Linked DNA regions of Homo sapiens: all the other regions are linked to region 3. The links are contacts of gene promoters, found by promoter capture Hi-C in blood cells and fetal thymus (Javierre and others, 2016). All regions are on one chromosome and are shown on one strand. Each heading gives the region's core, a stretch centred on a gene start or on the middle of the fragment in contact. The rest is flanking DNA. Distances are from core to core; before and after follow the strand shown.

Region 1 (3,343 bases), core at 249-2,748, 340 kb before region 3:
ACAAAAAACCCAAACCTGACTATATCAATTGCTACTGAGATGGGGGGCAACTAGAACTCTCATATGTAGCTGGTAGAAATGCAAAATGGTTCCGGGACTTTGGAAAACTATTAGGCATGGCAAGTGTTAAACTACCACACAAACCAGCAATCCTACTCCTAGGTAATAAGAAAGAAGAGAGGCCGGGCGCAGTGGCTCAGGCCTATAATCCCAGCACTTTGGGAGGCCAAGGCAGGCGGATCACCTGAGGTCAGGAGTTTGAGACCAGCCTGGCTAACCTGGTGAAACCCCATTTCTACTAAAAATACAAAAAATTAGGCGGGTGATGTGGCGCATGCCAGTAATCCCAGCTACTCAGGAGGCTGAGACAGGAGAATCGCTTGAACCTGGGAGGTGGAGGTTGCAGTGAGCCAAGATGGCGCCAGCGCACTCCAGGTTGGGCAACAAGAGTGAAACTCCATCTCAAAAAAAAAAAAAAAAAAAAAAGAAGAGAAATAAATACATCCAAGAGAAATAAAAACCTATGTTCACAGGAAAACCTGTATTGTTTATAGCAGCTTTCTTCATAATGGCTCCACACTAGACCACAAACATCCTCCAACTGGTGAATGTCTGAACATACTGTGATATAGTCATACAACAGACTACTACTTAGCCATAAAAAAGAACAAACTAATTTATGAAACAACATGGATAGATTTTACATCCATTATTCGAAGTGAAGGAAGCTAGATTCAAAAAGCTAAATGCTATATGATCCTATTTATATGACGTTCTGGAAAAGGCAAAACTATATATAGAGAAAACAGACCAGTGGTTACCAGAGGCTAGGGTGGGGGAATTAATTGACTAAAGAGCGGCACAAAGAAATTTCTTTTAGGGTGATGGAAGTGTTACATGCTTTGATTGCGGAGGTAGTTATACAATTGTAAGCACTGTCGAAACTCACAAAAAGGATGCATTTTACTGTATATAATACTTCAACAAACCTTTTTAAAATTGTGGGAACACAGAACCCATTGAGTGGGAACTTAAACAGTTTAAAATCCCAATCTGAAGATTTTGACAAGCTGTTCTTCCTTCCCTCTATTGAAAATCATTACGCAAGTGACAGAGGAAAATTACTGGGGAGAGGAAAACTTTAGGGATTCAAAAGAAATTATTTGTCGAAAACTCTGCATTTATACATAAGATTAATTAGGAATGACTGTGACTTAGAAAAACCTATTTATTCCACAAAAGGGTTTATTATAGGTTCCTACAAGTAGCAAGTTTTCTTATGCTTTTATTATAAACATTAATTAAAAAACAAAAACTTTTTGGGAACAAAATTGTTGTAACAACAAAGGCACATATCAATAGCATCCTATCTGCAAAGGTGCTTCTGAATTTCTATAGAAGTGTATAGAACAACAGAGAAAATAGTTTGGCTGGAAACAAGTGAAGGCAATAAGGATTTTTTAATAATTGTTTTCACTGAAAAACTGGATTTGATCACTTAAAACAAGTGACTTTTTTTTTTTTCTCTTTTGAGACAGAGTTTCCCTCCTTTCCCAGACTGGAGTGCAATGGCGCAATCTCAGCTCACCGCAACCTCTGCCTCCCGGGTTCAAGTGATTCTCCCACTTCAGCCCACTGAGTAGCTGGGATTACAGGCATGCGCCACCACGCCTGGCTAATTTTGCGTTTTTAGTAGAGATGAGGTTTCTCCATGTTGGTCAGGCTGGTCTGGAATTCCTGACCTCAGGTGATCCACCTGCCTCAACCTCCCAAAGTGCTGGGATTACAGGCGTGAGCCACCGTGCCTGGCCAAAACCTGTTGCTTTTCTAAAAATTCAACAAGTCTTTGATTGTTTCAGGAATGGAAATAAAAAAAGAGAAAGAAGAAACAATGTCAAGAGAAATGAAACCAGATGCAAAAAATGTTTAACAGCACCATTGCTTTTGCCACTAGTTTTATTTTATTTTTATATTTTATTTTATTTTATTTTTGAGATGGAGTCTTGCTCTGTCACCCAGGCTGGAGTGCAGTGGCACGATCTCAGCTCTCTGCAATCTCTGCCTCCCGGGTTCAAGTGATTCTCCTGCCTCAGCCTCCCGAATAGCTGGGATTACAGGCATGTGCCACCACAACCGGGTAATTTTTCGTATTTTTACTAGAGATGGGGTTTCACCATGTTAGATAGGATGGTCTTGATTTCCTGACCTCGTGATCCGCCCACCTCGGCCTCCCAAAGTGCTGGAATTAGAGGCATGAGCCACCATACCGGGCCTAGTTTCATTTTTTTAAGAGATGGAGTCTCACTATGTCACCCAGGCTGGTATTGAACTCCTGGGCTAAAACGATCCACCTGCCTTGGTCTCTAAATGTGCTGGGATTACAGGCACGAGCCACCATGCCCAGCTGCCACTAGTTTCTTTAAAAAGATGTTGGATATTGTCAAAACACATTTAAACATATCAATTAAACAGCAGATATCAAAATAATCTTGCTCTCAATATTTGCAGAGCAGGATATTTAAAAAAAAAAATCTTACCTGATAACATCTTGAACAAGTCAGCCAATTGATTGTTCCCCACAATCGCCAGTATACATCTCTCCAAGATTTTAATTCTTCGAAAAGACTATTCAAATACTCATGAACATCCCATGTCTTATCTCTGGAGAAAGAGCCTCAATTTTACAAGCAAGTGATATAAACAATTTGTTTTATTTATTTATTTAATTATTATCTTCTTTGAGATGGAGTTTCACTCTTGTTGCCCAGGCTGGAGTGCAATGGCATGATCTTGGCTCACTGTAACCACCACCTCCAGGATGCAAGCAATTCTCTTGCCTTGGCTTCCCAAGTAGCTGGGATTATAGGCGTGTGCCACCACACCCAGCTAATTTTGTATTTTTAGTAGAGGCAGGGTTTGTATATTTGGTGGACAACAGGAAAAGGTATGAATGATTTGAATACCAAATAATTTTGCTAAGCTAGATAAAGGATTACAAATTAAATATAGTTTGAACAGGCCAAGAGTTGGGAATTAGGCAAATGTTAAATGGAAGCTTTATTCTAATTGCATATGTTATATGACAAGTTGTTATTAGTTACTGGTGATTCTAAACATTAGAATCATTCATGTATTAGTACTTTATATCACTAATAACATTTCATTAATGTATTAGTATTTTACACTATTTTCAAGTATCTTTTAGTAATTGAGTGATACAGAATATACAATCAGGTCTTGGTAATATAGATTTTTAGATTAAATAATATAAAGTTAAAAAATAGCAAAGCCTCAAAACCATATTTGCTATGGTCATATGCAACTCAAGTTTGTTTTTTGTTTT
Region 2 (3,375 bases), core at 567-3,066, 290 kb before region 3:
GAGTAGGGAGATTTAGTTCTCTCAAAACTGAAAACTAACATCAATGTCTTTCATATTTTAAACTGGAGTCTAAAAAATGAATATCTTATTCCTTCTCAACTGGGTAAGTTAGGAATAAGTATAGAAAAGATATACCTTTAATGCACTCAGCTTTCTTAGCCTACTTTTGGCAAAAATATAAAATTCGTTTCATGTGATTGTAATAAACAATCCTGAAGACAGTAAATATTAATTTCAATCCAAGATGGGCAAAAAATTGAAGACCTTTGTTATTTCTAGCCATATGATAAATAAAGGCAATACTCTAAGCTTAAAGAAAGATTATTTAATGTACTCAATTTTCTATTGTATTTTCCTATTTTATCTATATCTTTAAAAAGCTGCTTAACTGTTACAATTTTAGTTCAACATTATAATTTAGGCACAATATAAGACTTTTTAATGTTTAATGCTCTATAATAACAGGAAAAAACAAATTTACCATGTCTACGACCGATTTTGTTCCAAAGGCCCAAACATACTTTTCTTGAGCAATGGAGGAAAGCCAAGAAGCAAGCTAGTGTTAAGAGGCACTATTCATTGAAGAATAATGAAATATAAAATTTTTCTGAAGTGTTATGTAACTGAAAGAAACCACATGACCTCTAATTAAAATTATCTGTGTTGTTCCTGTCTCTAACAACAAATCTTTAAAAAATCATTCGTTTGAAATCCAAAATAGTAAATTGCTATTTTCCCTATAAGAAAAATATGAATAGGCCCAGCGTGGTGGTACACATCTGTAATTCCAGCACCTTGGGAGGCCAAGTCGGGCGGATCACAAGGTCAGGAGTTCGAGACCAGCCTGACCAACATGGTGAACGCCTGTCTCTACTAAAAATACAAAAACTAGCTGGTCGTGGTGGCATGTGCCTGTAGTCCCAGCAACTCAGGAGGCTGAGGCAGGAGAATCACTTGAACCCGGGAGGCGGAGGTTGCAGTGAGCCAAGATCGTGCCACTGCACTCGAGCCTGAGCAACAGAGCTAGACTCTGTCTCAAAACAAAAAAAAAAGAAAGAAAAATACAAATAGAATACCTAAAAGTCTAGAGGTTTGTTTTTTTTTTCTTGAGACAAGGTTACACTACGTTGCCCAGGCTGGAGTGCAGTGGTGCTGTTCCACAGGTGTGATTACAATGTACTACAGCCTCAAACTCCTGGCCTCAAGTGATCCTTCTGCCTCAGCCCCTTGAGTAGGTGGGACTATAGGTGCACACACTGCACCTCGCTTAAGTCTAGGTTTTTTGTAAAAGGGATGAGGCAAAGATTTAGTAATCTCATCCAAAATTTTCAATTATTTACATAGTAATGATTTGAACATTGAAAGTATTTCTTCCCTGCAAAAAATGACTAAAACCAAAAAAAGGGTGAAGTTTCCATAAATAGATCCTTCCATGAAAAAACAGCCAGAGTTGTTAAAAGCACAAGGTCTCAAGTTAGACAAACCTAGATTCATAGTCCAGTTCTATTGCACCTTTGCTTTGTGATACTGGACAATTTACTTATTCTGAGTCTCAGTTTCTTCAAGGGTAAAACAATGACAGGATAATAATAGTACCACTTCACCGTATTATTGTAAGGCTTAAATGAAATATGTAAAATACAGTACCTTGTACATAGTAAGTACTCAATAAATAACATGTTATTGTTATTAGTACCTTTATCAACAAAACATCACTTTTTGCAATAAACTTGAATCCCCATAAATACACATATTTAAAAAAATCCATAAAAATCCTGATAATCATTACTCAGGAAGGGTGAAGGAAAAGGTCATTTTGCCTAGAGTCATTAAAAAGTATCAGTGACTTGGTCCAAAAATAAACCCGAGATGCGTATAAATCTCTTGCTGGGGTTCTATAATACTTCATGACACTATTTCCTAAAATACTTATGATGAAATTTCTGAGGTAAACACTGCTGAAGTAATAAAGAAGCAACACCAGTCCACAAGGACTAACAGCAATGCTTAGATGATGTTACATAATTCCTTTGCTTTATTAGATTTGTTATGTTTAGTTACTGACATCACGTTTTTGTGTGGGGATTAACAGTTTGAAATTCAAGTATTTTGAGTTTAGAAAAGCCTATATAAACAAAGCCTTTCCTTATCTCAGTGAAATAGTATTCGAATAACTCTGCTGGGGCATTTCTTCCTGACTCCTCCAGATTTGGAAGCTCTAAATTGACATGAAAAAGAAGTTCTAGTAACTATCTCTAAGTTAACTAACAATGAACAAGATCCTTTGTTGTAGTTTTTAATACTGCATTTATGAATATCAAAATTTACAGATAATTCCAACTTATTCATAATTTATTACCTTTGAGAGCTAAGTTCAGCATATCACCAGCCCGGAAAGAAATTTCTTCTTCAGATACGGCAGCAAAATCATATTCTGCTCTGGCAACTACATGGTCATCCTCACCACTTGCCCAGTTGATGCTGTCTATAAGCCAAATTAAAATTAGGTTAATAAAATTTACAAAAGAAAAATGCAGATATTTCACTGGCTATGGCTTGCAAACTGCATAAATTTGCCAAGAGAAAAGTCCTCCCCTCCCAAGTAAAAACTATAATGAATACTATGTTAAATCAACAATAGATCCACTAAAGATACCTATTATGAACTTTTTCCTTTCTTTAAGCTCCAACTTCCCGCTCTCTTACCGTGAGCCAGGGGTTGGCAAATTTTTTCTGAAAAGGGTCAGATAGTTAATATTTTAGACTTTGAAAGCCAAGAGGCAAAACAGGATATTGGGCAATTACTTTTATAAAAAGAGGAAACAAAATTTCCATAAATTTATTGACAAGATTAAAAATATAATAACCATGTTTCTTTTTGGTAATACAGGTCTATTTGGAAGTTACTTAGAAGAATGAAATATTTTGGGGGAAGGATATTTCACTTAATTGGAAATCAATTATAAATATTCACTTGCTAATTCTAATTTGTAATAAAATTTGAGGTACTGCATTTTTGAAAATGCCTTTTCACACAGATAGGTAATGTCAAATCCTAATATGAGTCTATGAGTATGTGGTTTTAATTGAGCATATTTATTAGTTGGGAGAGTAATAGGCCAGAATATAATTCTGTTAAATTCTTCTCTTGATATTTGCCTTTTACCATGTTATTACATTGCAGATTAATCACTTCCAAATGAAGATTAAGTGGAAGTTCCTCAATTGCATAGTTAAATGGATTTTGAAATATGGAAATTTCCTTTGTGCTTGCATGGAGGTCCAAAAAATGCTCTGGCATTGTATTAATAGCTTAAGCTTGGAAAATGTATCTGCTGCCAACTTGCGTGGGAATGGAGATACTGCTTGTGTTAA
Region 3 (3,162 bases), core at 476-2,975:
TACTCCATTCTCTCCTCTCTAACTACTTCAGCTCTGACACCATGATGACGGGCCTCACTTTTTTACCTGTATGCTGACAAAGTTGGCCAACTAGCCTACTGGCCCTAAAATTCCAAATCCAGGTTCTGAACTTCCCCCATCTAGAGGGGAGGGGAAAGTAAACAACAGAATCCCACATTCCCTTCAAACCATCAATTTCACTTACAGGCAAACAACCTAGAGAAATTCTAGTTACAAGCGTACAAAGAGACACCTAAAAGAACGTTCACTGTCACATTGTAACATTAAAAACTTAGAAATAAAATAGTCACTAACAGGAAAAGAATTAAATTAGGGTGTTTTCCTACAATAGAATACAATACAATAATTAATATTAATTAATTACAACTAAAATACTAACATGAACAAAGCTCAGAGATACTATGTTGTGCTAAAGAAGTTACAGAATTCCAAGTGTGATACGAGTTATATAAAGTTTAAAAACAACTAGAACTATGCCAGTTATTATGAACACATGTGTATGTAGTAATAGCATTAAAAAACATGCAGCTCCCATGATTCGAGGGCGGAAAAAAAAGAAGTAAAATAAAAAACAGGCAGCAACGATAAACATCAAATTCAAGACTGTGGAGACATCTGGAGCAAGAGATGATTGGGACCAGAGAAGGAGGTAGGAGAGTCCTTCAGATGTATCTGGAATGCTTGATTTCTTTTTAAAATAAATACACAGATACGTATATACACACCGTGTGTGTGCGTGTGTGCATGTACGTGTATGTGTGTACAGTTACGTTTTGGGAGAAATGGGTGGTGGCTCCACAAATGATGCTTATGTTATTCTCTACATTTTTCTGCATGTTTAAATTATTTCCTAATAGACCAAAATGGAAGAAGCTACAACAAAATCTTGCCAAGTACGGGAACTGTTTCTGACTTATCAAAGTGTGAACAAGAGGTACAGACCGGTAGATGTTGTGGGTAGGTGGGGAAGCAGGGGGTGAGGGAGAGGGTGGGGACGGCGGTGAAAAGACTGTAGCCTCATATGAAAGAGAAACCCTTGGGCTGCGATAGGTCTTTCACTCCTGAAGACCTGGAGACAGCCGGTCGGGAAGGGAGGAGGGGGAGGCAGGGGGATGGTATTTGCGCCAATGCAGACAGGAGCAGACGGGCTCAGACAGTGCTGGGGGCAGGCGAGTGACCGACAATTTCTCCCTACGGACACAGGCACCTCTTTCCCTCCTCATCCTTTTCTGAGGGCGTCCTCGGAGGCGGGACAGCTGGGGACTCCCGGAGTCCCCGAGTCCGTGCAGGGGTGGCCAGGTGAGCCGCCGGGTTTAGGGGAGGTGCCCTTGCGGACCGGCCGGGAGCCGGGAAGGAGACCATCCCGGCGAGCTGCGTGCAGGGCGCAAGGGACAGGGAACGGAAACAAGGACACAGTCGGACCACCTCAGCTCACCCCTACCCGCCTCACCCCAACCGCCGCCCCCCACCACTTACGCAGACATCTCTTTCATCGCTTCCTGCGTCTCCCTCTCCAGCGAGTGTTTATCGCTCTGGAGTCCTGTTCTTGCTGTTCCCTTCTCCCCCTGTTCACTTTCCTCCGGTCGCTAGTAGCTCGCTTGCTCGCTCACTTTCCCACTTACTATGGCTGAGGCATCCAACCGAGTAGTGAAAACACCACAAAACCGGCTCTATTTATGACAATACAGCGCGGCCGACGCCAATATGGCGCCGCTTCCCAGCCTGCCTCTCGCAGGTCTCAGCCCCGCCCCTGGAGGTCTGGACCACCCTCAGCCACGCCCCCTCTGCCTTTAGGTCCCGGGAGGCTCCGGGGCCCCGCCCACAAGCTCAGGGCTCTCAGTATACCGTTGGTTCGAAGGAGTATTTATTTGGTACTCTCCTTTGTCCGCGGTACTGTCAATGCCGGTAGACCGCTTGGAAGGAAATTTGGAGATATGTTTTCCTTGCCTCTCGAATGGCAGCATATATCATACATTTTTTAAAAAGGTCACACCCTTGCCTAGCAAAAACTATTTCAACGCCTCCGTTATCCTACATCTTTGATTTAATTATAGTTATACATAATTAACTCACCAGTTGAGATTTTGTCTCGAAAGGGTCACACCCAGGAACATACGACTTTCACACAAGTATCCCAGGGAAAAACAAGCTTGTAAATTGGAGGCTTAACTGTTCACTTCACCCCTAAGTACCACCTTTGATTAGTGACATTCTGGCATTTAGCTGACAGAGGTTGAAAATAGTAGCTAGCAGTTTGCAATAGGATAAATCCCAGGCTGAAACAAAAATCTTACACTTTTAAATAGTGGAAATCATGTTCGATGTGAGTGTGGGGATGAAAATGAGAAAATAATAACCAATTTTAAAATGCTGAAAGGTAGAAGTAATTTCAAGCACTAAATCATTACAAAGAAAAGGAAGTCAAGAACTGCTTGCTCTTGAACATAACTCAGAGTCACAGTAAATAGAGGAGATTACTTGCTGATTAATTCATTAAAAAATATTTATTGAGGCAAGATACAGTGGCTCACACCTGTAATCCCAGCACTTTGGGAGGCCAAGGTGGGAGAATTGCTTGAGGCCAGGAGTTCGAGAACAGCCTGGGCAACATAGTGAGACCCTGTCACTACAAAAAGTTTTAAAAAAATTAGCTGGGCATGGTGGCCCATGCCTGTAGTCCCAGCTACTCAGGAGGCTGGGGTGGGAGGATCTCTTTGAGTCCAGGACGTGGAGGCTGCAGGAAACCAGGATGGCACCACTGCATTCCAGCCAGAGTGATAGAAGGAGACCCTGTCTCAAAAAAATAAATAAATAAATAAATAAATAAAAACTACAAAACATATTTTTGAAAACCTGAGCAAGGTGCAGTGGCTCTTGCCTGCAATCCCAGTGCTTTGTGACGCCAAGGCTGGTGGATCACTTGAGGCCATGAGTTCTATTAAGACCAGCCTGGCCAACATGGCAAAAACCCATCTCTACTTAAAAGCAACAACAAAAACCTGACGTGGCCTGGTGTGGTGGATCACACCTGTAATCCTAACATTTTGGGAGGCTGAGGCGGGTGGATCACTTGAGGTCAGGAGTTCGAGACCAGCCTGGCCAACATGGTGAAACCCCATCTCTACTAAAAATAGAAAAACT

The links. Contacts are between HindIII fragments. The CHiCAGO score rates a contact against its expected background, and 5 or more counts as called.
Region 1: a contact is called between a fragment that was not itself captured here and the fragment with the promoter of PAPOLG in region 3, in 1 of 17 cell types (neutrophils). The highest score is 6.1, in neutrophils.
Region 2: a contact is called between a fragment that was not itself captured here and the fragment with the promoter of PAPOLG in region 3, in 1 of 17 cell types (activated CD4 T cells). The highest score is 5.4, in activated CD4 T cells.

What each region holds. Positions count from the first base shown.
Region 1 is chr2:61,091,782-61,095,124 of GRCh38, reverse strand. It overlaps SANBR (SANT and BTB domain regulator of CSR), which reads right to left. Exons shown (of 22, transcript NM_001129993.3): 11 at 2,538-2,661. Among named protein-coding and RNA genes, the nearest start is that of SANBR, 28 kb to the right of the region's middle. The HindIII fragment of the contact is 3,119 bases long and covers 1-3,057 here.
Region 2 is chr2:61,044,836-61,048,210 of GRCh38, reverse strand. It overlaps PEX13 (peroxisomal biogenesis factor 13), which reads right to left. Exons shown (of 4, transcript NM_002618.4): 3 at 2,360-2,485. Among named protein-coding and RNA genes, the nearest start is that of SANBR, 19 kb to the left of the region's middle. The HindIII fragment of the contact is 3,009 bases long and covers 312-3,320 here.
Region 3 is chr2:60,754,831-60,757,992 of GRCh38, reverse strand. PAPOLG (poly(A) polymerase gamma) reads right to left here and starts at 1,725. Exons shown (of 22, transcript NM_022894.4): 1 at 1,498-1,725. The coding sequence starts at 1,514. RefSeq lists an enhancer at 1,500-1,809. The HindIII fragment of the contact is 3,911 bases long and covers 1-2,172 here.